Linked DNA regions of Homo sapiens: region 1 is linked to region 2. Evidence: promoter capture Hi-C in 16 types of primary human blood cells and fetal thymus (Javierre and others, 2016). All regions are on one chromosome and are shown on one strand. Each heading gives the region's core, a stretch centred on a gene start or on the middle of the fragment in contact. The rest is flanking DNA. Distances are from core to core; before and after follow the strand shown.

Region 1 (6,623 bases), core at 864-3,363, 1.4 Mb before region 2:
CCAAGCCCAGTGAGATCTAGAAGCTTATATACTGTCTTCATAGGGAAGACAGGAAGGGGGATGTAGGCAATGTAGGGGAGAGGAAATTATTTTTGGGAAAGATGAATGGGCCCTCCAAAGAACAGGTGACTGTCTGTGACAAAGTTTATCTTGCATAGTATCAACTTCCAGTCTCCTCTCCTGTGATACGAGTTAATCTTCCCTAGAATACATATATATATGCTTATAATAAACAACAGAAGGATATATCATAACATTTAAAATTATTACTCTAAGGTAAGAGAGGCTATTAGGATGAAGGAGAAAGATTTCTTTGGATATAATTTGATTTGACCTTGGGACTATGTAAAAATATTTTATGTAACGGTAGAAACAAATATTAAAAAGTCCAATCCCTAGACATCAACAGCAAAATGAAGTTAATATTCCCTAAGAATACATACATATATGCTTATAATAAACAACAGAAGGATATATCATAACCTTTAAAATTATTACTCTAAGGCAAGAGAGGCTATTAGCATGAAGGAGAAAGATTTCTTTGGATATAATTTGATTTGACCTTGGGACTATGTAAAAATATTTTATGTAATGATAGAACCAAACATTAAAAAGTCCAATCCTAGACATCAACAGCAAAACAAAGTAAATGGATCTGTATATCTAGATCATAACATAAGTGTGCAGGAAGGGATACTCCAAATACTTTGAAAAATAGTCATTTGAACACAAATGAACATTACTAGTGTGGTATATACCCTAAGGCAGCAGTTCTTGAACCTTCTGGTCTCATGACCCACTTACACTCTTAAAAAGTAATGAAGTGATGCAGATGATAATTTGAGGATGCCTTGGGAATTAGAGTTCGGATGCCAGCAATGACAGTCATTAAAATAAAATATGTTCTCCTTAAATAATATTTCAGTGAACAAAACACCAAGGAGTTTTCCAGGGAGCTCTCTTTTGAACCTTGATCTATAGCATATTAGGTGGTGGAGCTTTGCAATCCAAAGAATTTGTGTTTCTGTAGGTTATAACTATTGACATTTACCGTATTATATAGTAAAACAAAAAAATTTGGTTAATTCATTTAAAAATAACAGTAATAAACCCATTTTATGTTAGCATACATATTTTATGAAAAATAGCTATTTTTTAAAATAAAAAGAGTGACACTGTTTTACAATTTTGCAAATCTCTCTAATGCCTTGTTTAATAAAAGAAAGCTGAATTCTTCTTTCTGCATTCAATCTCTTGCAATATAAATGTCATCTGAAAATAATAATGAAAAAGAAAAATTAGTGTCAGAATTAGTATGAAATAATATTAGCCCACAGACCCACTACAAGGGCCTCAGGGGTCCCCAGACCACATTTTGAAATTAACTGCAATTGTTGCCATTATAGAAATCACTGTCCTTAGGACAAAAAAAAAAGCAAACATTTTTTGAAAATTATTTTCTTAGTAACAATATTGTTGGTGACACTGGTGGGGATGGCTATGGCAGAAGCTGATGCAGATGATAATTTGAGAATGCCTTGGGAATTAGAGTTTGGATTCCCAGCAATGACAGCCACTAAGATGAAATAAGCTCTCCTAACATAACATTTCAGTGAACAAAGCACCAAGGAGTTTTCCAGGGAGCTCTCTTTTGAACCTTGTTCTACAGCTTGGTGGGAGGTGGAGTTTTCCCCAAGGTAAATACAATAGAACCTTACAAATGGAAGGATGGGACCCTCCTGGAGAGCATGATGCTCATCTCAGAGATGTAGGGCACAATGACCTAGGAGAAGACAAATCCTAGAACACAGTGTAAGCTTCTTATTCAGCTCATCATACTGTTTGTTCCAATTGATTATCATCATGGATTGCTGGCATTTTACATGCTGAATCTATTCCAATTGACAACTGTAAGTGTTCTGTTTAACTAAAATTCTCAAGTTAGCCATACTAATTATTAGTGGGGATTCTTTCAGGCTTTCTTGCCTCTCTCCTGCCCTAACTTACTTTTTATTGCTTCTCCAGACATCTGAGATTATCCTCACCTTCCGTCAGCATGATGTCCTACACTCATTAGGATTTCCTATTCCCCAAAACTTGTAATTGGATCCTCTTCAAGAACGTTGGGTTCTTGACTAGAAACTAAAAATATCTACACTACGGTTTACGTTACATTGTTTTCTGTGTGCACTGATGCACCTGGTTGACTTATGGGACTTTTAGATGATATTTAGTGACAGATTTAAAACACTGACTTTTTTTCTTTTATTTCCTCCTCTCTCACATATCAAAGAACACTGTTTTTAGAGGATGAGTGCATGTTACTCCTTTCACTGAATGTCCTTTATCCTTCCTAAAAAGTTTTCCTTTTTAAATCTAACTCACTTTTCTTCACGATCAAAAAGCTTCATTCTTCTCTGTCATAAAAACAATTCCCTTACCAAGGTTAATTTACTATATTGTGGGTTAATTTAAATAACGTGTTTAAAGAACAATATTATTTAAAATTTTAGAACGCACACAATGGACTTTTATCCACGTATTATTAAAGTCACAGTAGTGACTTTAACATTCTACATTGAGCTTTTAGGACAACTAATATACTCCACAGCTAATAAATGCATGTAGTTACCGTGGGTTTTTTTTGTACTTTATAATTCTAAATGATGCCTCCCAGTTTTTATTATGTGTATAGCAGTTGTTTGAAAAGAAAATGAAATGGAATTTTAATTTTCTAACACTCTTACTCCAAGAGAACAACAAAATTACAAAGGTATCATTGATGTTCAGTTTATTATTATTCCATTAACTCCGTTAAATATAATATGAATAATAAATTGAGTGTATGTATGTGTAAAGTGTGTCATTTGGCTCACAGAATATGTAGCTAAACCATCAAAAGATTGGACCTATCTGTATTCTCCACCTTGCTGCTGAGATGAGCTTCATGAGCATACAATAATGTGGCCACATATAAATACCTTAATATACACAGAATTTGTTGATAATCTACAGTTTATTTTCAAGATGTCGATTTAAAATGCTGGAAAAAGTAATTAAATTATGATCAAGCTACAAAGCATTAAAATTAATATCTAGAATTATTTTTTAAAGTCCAGTGTAATATTTACAATGCTATCTCCAAAATTTTAGTGCAATTATTTATATAGTTCAATATTCTTGAAACACCATTTCACAAGAACCAACTAGTAAACGATACTAGTATACTTGGGCTATAATGTATTTTAGGTGCAACTCCACATATATATTCACTTCACATGCACAAACTTCTAATATTAATTAAGGTAATTGAGATGTAAATTTACAGGTTTTTTTTCTTTGAAAAGTGCAGAGACTTTAGAAGTTATAATTACCGGACATCCTAGTCCTATGTAAAACTTGAATTTCTGCATGAATAGGCCATGTCTATACTCTCAGTTTTATATTCTGTATTAATTCTACTATTAAAGCAAACATGATATAAAACATAGCCTTAAGAAATTAAAACACACACAAAAAAATCCCTTAATATATTAATGGATACTTTTCTTCATTCTAAGCATCTGAAGAAATCCTCTGGGAAATAGTTTGTATCTATGTTTTAGTATAACATATTAAACTAAAATTATTATTTGTAAAGTAGTGTCTAATATAATATGGCTTCCAGAAAGATATAGTCCATACCTATTTAGCTTTGAATGCGAGGCTTTAAGCAAAAATTCAAAGTGCCTCTCCTTTCCATATCTCAAGACCACAGCCTGAAAGACTTTTAATGGGCAACCACTAGTTTTTATCTTGGGAATATTGCAAATTAAACAAATTAGGTCACCAATATGTACCTTCATATGCAATTTGAACAAAAGGGAAATACCGCAGTAAGTGGTTAATTGGTCAAATAGTGTATTTTTTTGTTCTTGAGTAACAAGATGTTTTTCAGAAGTTTAGTAGCTAAATAGATAAGAAATACATAAACAACTATATATTGCCCCCCCCCTTTTTTTTTTTTTAAGACAGAATTTTGCTCTTGTGGCCCAGGCTGGAGTGCAATGGCACGATCTCAGCTCACTGCAACCTCTGCCTCCCGGGTTCAAGTGATTCTCCTGCCCAGCCTCCCGAGTAGCTGGGGTTACAGGTATGCGCCACCACACCTGGCAAATTTTGTATTTTTAGTAGAGATGGGGTTTCTCCATGTTGGTCAAGCTGGTCTCGAACTCCCGATCTCAGGTGATCCGCCCGCCTTGGCCTCCCAAAGTGCTGCGATTACAGGTGTGAGCCACTGTGTCTAGCCTATATTGCCTTTTAATTCTTGTTTTTTACAATGATGGCAATCCATAATGTTATTCAATTGTTGTTTAATCCTTTCATAAGAATGTTATTCTAGTTTTTCTGGTAATTAAAAAGACAGCTCTGGAAACTTCCGTAGACTTACCTATAAATCTGTTATTGTTTTGATTTCATATCACTTTTAAAGATTGTGTACATTTTGTTTTGTTTTTTTAAGTAATGTGGTCCAGCTAGTCACCCAGGCTGAAATGCAGTGGGGCCATCCTAGCTTACTGCAGCCTTGAACTTCTGGGCTCAAGCTATCTTCCTACTCCAGCCTCCCAAGTAGCTGGGACTATAGACATGAGGCACCTCTCCTAGCTTCACTTTTAAAGGTTTTAAAATCTAATCTTTCTCTGGTTTTAGCTTGCTTAATACAAAATTCAATTATGTTCTATAGGAAAAATTTCCTCTACTTTGGGATCTTGGCAGTGATCCTCCTAGAAATGGTGATGGGCAAAACAAAAGGCTTTTGATTTTGTTGAAATGTGTTTGATAGGCTACATTAAAGCCACAGCACAAAGAAACCTTGTAGAGCAAAGGAATAAAGAAATTATTGATGAAACTCTGAATCCTGGAAGGAAACTCAAAGATCATCTTACTAAACCCTACCTTTATTTACATTTGAAGGAATGGAAACCAAGAAGTATTTGTGAAAAACATGCTGTCACGCCAGAACCCAGATCTCTGGGATTCCTGTCCAATGTGTGTGTGTGTGTGTGTGTGTGTGTGTGTGTGTGTGTGTTTGAGAGAGAGAGACAGTGTGAGAGTAGGAGAAAAAGCAGGAGGAGGGGAAGGCGAAAAGGGAGAGAGAAAGCACAATTCTCTCATTCCATATATGTATTGAGTGCCTACTATATGTCAGGGATACACCAATAAATGATATGGATTGTAACACATATTTACTTTTGTAAATGAGCAATTCTATTATAAAAGATAAATATGCTTTTAGTTAGTAAAATGTAGGCAAAAATGCTTAAGATGTTTTAAGTAGACATAAGTAGTTAGTAAAAAGAGCATATGTTGTTAAATATAGATATAAGGGATGGAAGGGTCAAAAGATACCTAATGTTCCTGATGCACAAAATATACAAAAGGAGCCACACATTCAGAATTCACAGATATATGAGACATCGAAGCACTGACTCATTATTCATGAGGCCTTGAGTCAGCCACAAATTGGAGACACCATAAGTTCTCTACTTTAGGAACAAAAATAAAATCCATGGCTATTCAACCAACTAATTGGTTGGGTCCAGGCATATATATCTCTGTGTCTATCCTACAGGCTGATTGAGCGATGTAAAAGAGATCAGATATACGGAAACTGCTCACACTTGAGTCAGATAGTGTGGTTCTTCCAATTCACTTACACACTAAACCATTAACTTGCTCTTCTTTTTCCCCTTGCTGCTTGCTATGTTTTTTAATGAAGCTGTGATTTGAGCATTTCACTGCATAGTCTGCAAACCTATTTGTGCTGTGTCCTCTGGGAGAGCTTGCATGGGACTATACTTGGAGCCTACCAGGGCATCAAGGTAATTTCTCACATGGTACCAATAAGGACCCTCTATCATAACAAAAATGTGGAACAGTCACCTTTAGACAGCAACTTGCAGGAAGTGAGGGAAAAATGATGGAGGTGTGTTCCAGTCAGAGGTAAAATAACGTAGAGGGGCTCACAGGGACACAATGCTCAGCAGTTTGAGGAACATCAACGGGGCCAGGGTAGCTAGAGTAGAGGAAACAAGTAAGACAGCCCTAGGAGATGAGGCCAAATACATCACTGGGGCCAGAGTATGCAAAACTTCATAGGGCAAGGTAAGGGCTTTGGAAGTTTCTGAGTCAAGGAGCAGGTGATCTGACCGAAACTTTTAGAAGGCTATCAGGATGCTGAGGGGAGCACAGACTGGAGAGGCACAGAGATAGGAGCAGGTACACCAGGTAGAAGCTATGTAATAACCAGGAGAGAGGAGGTGGGTGCAGAGTAGGTCAGCACTGGCAATGGAAAGTAAAGGGCTCCCAGTATGGATTACTTATCCCTAGATTACTGCCAAAGGAGTCTTCTTTCCTAGTCTTATTACTCTGTTCATTTCTGCCCAATTAAAACCTCCAAATGTCACTTTTTTTCTTGTTAAAAACACTTTTCTTTTCTTTTTTTTTTTCTTTTTTTGAGACGAATCTCGCTCTGTTGCCCAGGCTGGAGTGCAGTGGCACAATCTCGGCTCACTGCAAGTTCCGCCTCCCGGGTTCACGCCATTCTCCTGCCTCAGCCTCCCGAGTAGCTGGGACTACAGGCA
Region 2 (6,182 bases), core at 196-2,695:
GTCCCTATGCACCAGCACGGCCGGCGAAACCTTCTTTCGGAACCAGCGTAGCTCCAAGTGCTCGGCGCTCGCGTTCGGAGACAGGCGACAGGGCAGCTCGGCGTCCTCACCCACAACGGCCAGGATGGGCTCCGGGGGTCCAATCACGTCAAAGGGAGCTGCCGAAAAACGAGCGGGATCAGACGGGATGTGGAGATGGGAACTACGGACAGACACCGACCAGATTCCCGCCAAAGCGCAGTGCCCCGCGCTCTCTTACTCCTTTGACAGCTGAGTTTGTCTGGATCCAGTGGAGGTCTCCAGGGAGAGCCAAGTGGGATTGTTTATTTTACATTTATTGATATATTTCAACTATGCAGCCCAGAGAGAGAGAGAGACTTACCTGAATCCAGTTTGGGCAGCTGGAGGAGAATGAGGGTGAGCAGACATCTGGGGAGACCGGAGCTTGGGAAAACTGCCATCTCCCACCCTTCTGGAGCAGCAAGATAACTGATGTGAGTCCCCTCAGGAGCTTCAGCCTAGGAGATGAATGGACAGGAGACAACTACCGGCTCTGTCAACCCTCCGCTTTCCAAAGTCCTCTCTACAGTTCTTTCCAGCTGCAAGTGTTCTGGTCATTTGCCCCTGAAACCTCCTCTCAGCCTCCATCCCCAGTATGGATTTTTAGTTTACACTGTGGTTATCACCTTCCCACCCACTACTCTAACTCTAAAACTTAGGAGAAGGGAACTGTGAGGCATAACACTCATTAGTTGGTTGCATATCGATGAACAAATCTTGGAATCACTGCACTAAAAAAAAAGTCTCCTTTTTATTTATTTATTTATTTATTTTTGAGACAGTCTTGCTCTGTTGCCCAGCTTGGAGTGCAGTGGCATGATCTCGGCTCAATGCAACCTCAGCCTCCTGGGTTCAAGCGATTGTTCTGCCTCAGCCTCCGGAGTAGCTGGGACTACAGGCGCGCACCACCATGCCCCGCTATTTTTTGTATTTTCAGTAGAGACGGAGTTTCACCACGTTGGCCAGGCTGGCCTCGAACTCCTGACCTCGTGATCCACCCGCCTTGGCCTCCCAAAGTGCTGGGATTACAGGCGTGAGCCACCGTGCCTGGCCAAAGTCTTTTTTCAAATACAAGAATTTGGTATTTGCTTTTGGCAATGATAATAAAGATAAGGGTATAAAGGCAGAAATGGAGTCCAAGGAAATGAATTGGAGAAGAGAGAAAAGATGGGAGGAGATGGAGCAAGAAGCAGGAGCTGAAGCAAGCAAAAGGGCTTGAAGAGTAGAGGGCCTAGGACCAAGGAGAAAGGAGCTGGAGGGAGAGAAGTATGCTATGCCCCTCTGGCTGCTCACTCCCTCAGGGAGCTGAGAGTAACCACACATACTGACCTGGGTGATCTTGGAGAAAAAGGCACAAGAGGCCACTGCTACCAAGTGAGAAAGCTGGCTGTGGCCCCCGGGGCAAAAGTTAAAAGCCAGCAGGAAAAGGAAGCGGGAGGTGCTCTCAGGAAAGCCTGCCTCCAGGTGGCCTGGTATATTCACTCTGAGGAAAAAAAAAAGGGAGATGAAAAGTTTTTCAGAGAGATGGAAAACTGGATTTGTGGTCTTCAGCTCAGAAATCAAGATATGCATTGATGAGCTGGACCAAATGAAAGGCAGAAAAGAGAAAAAGAGAAGAGAGGCAAGGAAACACACAAATGAGATGTGATGGCTTCAGCCAGTTATTTCCTCTTTCCAAGCCTCAGTTCTTTGATCTCTAAAATGGTAATAATATTGATCATACCTTTCTTGAAGAGGTGTTGGGAGGATTAAGTGAGATTAAGCAGGTAAAGTGCTTAGCACATAGTAGGAACTCAGCGGAGGATAAATTGTTATTCTATTATTATTTCTGCGGGTTGAAAAATGAAAGCCCAGAGGCCAAGGTAGCAGTAGCCTCTGTCTATAGCCATCTTCGTTATTGGAGCGTCCGTCCACCTTAGGTGCTGTGTCTGTTGGAACAACTCCATTAAAGGCCAGTCTTAAGGGTAGGCTGTGAATTCTGTTTACAGGGCCCAAAAGTTGCCTCCCTGACAATTATTTCTTTTGAAGCAACTCATCATGAGGCCTACAATTCCTTAATTTATACTAAACCTACCTCTCATTGTTATGAAAAAATTTAAAAATACAGAAAAATATTTTTATAAAATGGAGGTCACACTTAATCTACTAACTAATGATAGCCTCAATTCACATTTTGGCATAGTCCTTCCAAGATTTATTTTATGCTTATGTATATCATAAAAGCAATCAATTAGACTTTTTGTGTAACTCAAAATATTGTTAATAGTTGTATAATTGCCATGATTGTGGGACATTTGGGATTTTTTTCCTATTGTAAATAATACACTTTATATATAAGTCTTTATTTGCAAATTGGATAATGTCCTGATAAACTGTTTAATAAATTTCCAGAAATAGAGTCATCAGATCAAATGGTATAAGCATATTTCTTTTCTTTTCTTTTTTTTTTTGAGACGGAATCTCACTCTGTCGCCTAGGCTGGAGTGCAGTGGCGTAATCTTGGCTCACTGCAACCTCCGCCTCCAGGGTTCAAAGGATTTTCCTCTTGCCTCAGCCTCCTGAGTAGCTGAGATTACAGGCACGTGCCACCATGCCCAACTAATTTTTGTATTTTAGTGGAGACAGGGTTTCACCATGTTGGCCAGGCTGGTCTCGAACTCCTGAGCTTCAATGATCTGCTTGCCTTGGTCTCCCAAAGTGCTGGGATTACAGGTGTGAGCCACCATGCCCGACCTAGTATCAGCATATTTCTACAGTCCCTTCCTGAAATGTTGAATCCATCACACCCTCAATGGAGGTGCCCTCACCTAATCCCTGCTAGCACTGAGAAGTTATTATTTCACATCCTTACTATTGGGATGGGTCAAGTTAATTAAATTATTATTTATTGTGCCTTTATATGTTAGCGAGGCTGGAGTTTTTTATGTGTTAATTAGACATTTAATACATTCTAGAAATGAGCTGTTCAGGCCAGTTGCCCATTGTTTTCAAGACTGGTCCTGGTGCTAGTTCTTAGCAATCTGTGTGAATTTTAATAACTTAAAAATATCAATCCTGTATTATATTTGTAACAAACATTCTTCCCAGTTTTGTTATTTATCTTTGAGTTGGAATTGTGATTAAGACAAAAGACAGTTGCTCCATTTCACCCACCAGACTGCCAAGAGAATGATCTTTCCCAAATGCAAATCTGATCATATCACTTTTTGCTTAAAAATCCTTCCACATCTCCCTAGTGACTTCAGCATCAAGTTTATGCACCTTAATCTGGTTAGGAAAATACTGTAGGTCTAGCTTGATCTGGTCAAGAAAATACTCTGGCAGTCTCCTTGCTTCTTTCCTGAGGGCTTTTTCTCCATTCCCCTTCTCCTTCCCTGCTTGTCCACCCACAGGCTGAATTTGGAGTGGGTGTGGTTACCTCAACCCACAATGCCTCTCAGGCCTCCAGATAGCAGTGCTTGCCTTCCCCCTTCCAGAATATTCTGTCTCTTCTTAACTTTTTTTTTTTTTTTTTTTTGAGATGGAGTCTCACTTTGTCACCCAGGCTGGAGGGCAGTGGCACAATTTCAGCTCACTGCAACCTCTGACTCCCAGGTTCAAGCATTTCTCCTGCCTTAGCCTCCCAAGTAGCTGGGACTACAGGCGTGCCCCACCACGCCTGGCTTTGTTGGTATTTTTGGTAGAGGTGGGGTTTCCCAATGTTGGCCAGGCTGGTTTTGAACTCCTGACCTCAAGTGATACACCCGCCTCGGTCTCCCAAAGTGCTGGGATTATAGGTGTGAGCCACCGCGACTAGCCTGTTCCCTCTTATCTTTATGATGAACTCCTATTCTTCCCTCAAAAGCTCATGTAAGGGCTGCACCTTCTGCAATGTCTTTCAGACATTGCATCAAGCAGATGCAACCTCACTTCTAGGGCTTCTCCTGATTAGCCTTTGTCCCCTCCAAGAGAAGTAGGCTTTCCTGGAAGATGGGCCAGGTGTATCCTGTGACACTTGGTCCCTTTCTCATGGCAGACACCTGATCTGAGCCCTAGTTTCAGAAGCAGATGTGTTTATTGTCATCTTTTGTTTCCAAGCTTGTCTTCCCCTCTTAAACTGAGCTTTCCTAGTTCTTACTCCCTGTCTTCTCATCAGCACATAGACTGAAATAGAATTTGTGGCTTCATTCAAACCCATCGTTCCTTAGCCTTCCTAGTTTGAAAGGCTCCTGTCCCATTTTCCTCTTCATGCTTAACTTTCTGATCATATCACCTATAATCTATTTCCCCTTCCTCATTTCACTTCTCTTATCAGCCCCTTTCAATGATACTTTTGTCTCATGCTTCATATTCTCATAAGACATTGTTTTCAGGGGGGAAAAAGAGCTTTTACTTGCAACTAACGGAGCCATACTGAAAAGAAAGGGTCTGGGGGAAAGAAGAAGAAAGTACTTGGAGCTCAAGCTATTGCATAACAGACACTATTTTGATTGGATAGCATCTGGGTCTTTTTGACAGAAACCAAGTCATCAGTCTTACACAATGAAAGACAGGATCTCTAAATTTCCCAAGGTTTAGAGAACAGAACCTCTAGGATGCCCCTAGGATGCCCCTGCCTGTCATGGTTCCTGAATGGGAGAGGCCTTGTGAAGTGGTGCTGCTCTTAGGAAGTTCCTGCTCTTCCCAGGCCCACTGCGAGATAGAAACAAAAACTTCTTCTTCTTAGACATGAAATCATTTGGGCTGAGGAATATGATATGCTTCATATGGAACCTAATGATAAAATGTCAGCATTTGTTTCCCCTCCCTGCTTTTCACTATAATCTGTTCAAATTTCTCAGTGTTATCCTCATGTCAAATTCAATGGTTACTCTCGTTCTCATCTTACTTGACTTTCATCACTGAGGCAACCATTTGAGTCTATTTATTTATTTTGAGACGGAGTCTTACTCTGTCGCCCAGGCTGGAGTGCAGTGGCACAATCTCGGCTTACTACAACCTCCTGGGTTAAAGCGATTCTCGTGCCTCAGCCTCCCAAGTAGCTGGGATTATAGACATGCACCACCATGCCTGGCTAATTTTTGTACTTTTAGTAGAGATGGGGTTTCACCGTGTTGGCCAGGCTGGTCTTGAATTCCTGACCTCAAGTGATCTGGCTGCCTTGACCTCCCAAACTGCTGGGAATACAGGTGTGAGCCACCACGCCCAGTCAACGTCTTTTCTTTTTAAATGTGGTTCAGTTGTTTTATGTGGTACTTATCTACATATTTCTCAAGACAATATCATTCTGTCAAAGTTTTTAAAAAAGCTCTTTATATGTATTACATGTATTTAAAAAAAAAACCAAATGGGACAAAGTGCTTTTAAGAAATGTCAGTTCCACTTCCCACTTCCAACCTATTACTCCTGAATCCCCAGAAACAGCTTCTTTAAGTGCTCAGTTGTTTTATCTGGTACTTATCTGCATATTTCTAGAGACAATACCATATTTATGCTGCTATTTCTCTATATATCCATTTCTAGATATTACTTTTCTATACCCTATTATGATCAATTATGATTTAGCTCTCTTATACCACCAGTAGTAATACATCACAAATTCTGTTCCATATTTCCAATACTGTGGCTATGTAACTATAGTTTTACGGGACCAAGTATCATATATGATTACATTTATTTTCATGTACAACCTCTTGTTTTTTTAGGAGTAGGGAGGGGGTGAAATGATTCATTTTTGTTCCTTTGTTTAGTTTTCTTTATTCCCCTCACAGGTTTTTCCCACTCCTCTAATTGACTCTAAGCACAGTTTCCATAGTCAAGCATATCAGGTAATTTATCAATCCCCTCTCTTCATTCTTCCCAGAGCAGCACTTGGGTCTTACTGAAAAAGAGATTCTGATTTAGTAGGTCTGGAATAGGACCAGGATTCTCACTGCTAGTTGCTCTGGTCCACAGGTCCACAGGGCAAGATCTACTGCCTACAGCTCTTTTTTTTTTTCTCTTTCTTGAGTGGGGGTGGTGTTCGGTGTAGGGTGTGGGGTTGGGGGGTGGTCTTGCTATGTTGCCCAGGCTGGACTCAAAATTCCTGGGCTCAAGGGACTTCCCACTTCAGCCTCTCCAGTAGCTAGGAATACAGGCACGTG

The links. The method cuts DNA at HindIII sites, captures the fragments that hold promoters and counts their contacts. A CHiCAGO score of 5 or more calls a contact.
Region 1: a contact is called between a fragment that was not itself captured here and the fragment with the promoter of BTN1A1 in region 2, in 1 of 17 cell types (activated CD4 T cells). The highest score is 6.0, in activated CD4 T cells.

What each region holds. Positions count from the first base shown.
Region 1 is chr6:27,846,758-27,853,380 of GRCh38, reverse strand. No RefSeq gene overlaps it. Among named protein-coding and RNA genes, the nearest start is that of H2BC15, 12 kb to the right of the region's middle. The HindIII fragment of the contact is 588 bases long and covers 1,820-2,407 here.
Region 2 is chr6:26,495,566-26,501,747 of GRCh38, reverse strand. BTN1A1 (butyrophilin subfamily 1 member A1) reads right to left here and starts at 1,445. Exons shown (of 8, transcript NM_001732.3): 1 at 1,390-1,445; 2 at 383-518; 3 at 1-158. The coding sequence starts at 461. All of the region lies in intron 1 of LOC107986583 (a long non-coding RNA gene), which reads left to right. RefSeq lists an enhancer at 27-156. The HindIII fragment of the contact is 5,298 bases long and covers 1-4,139 here.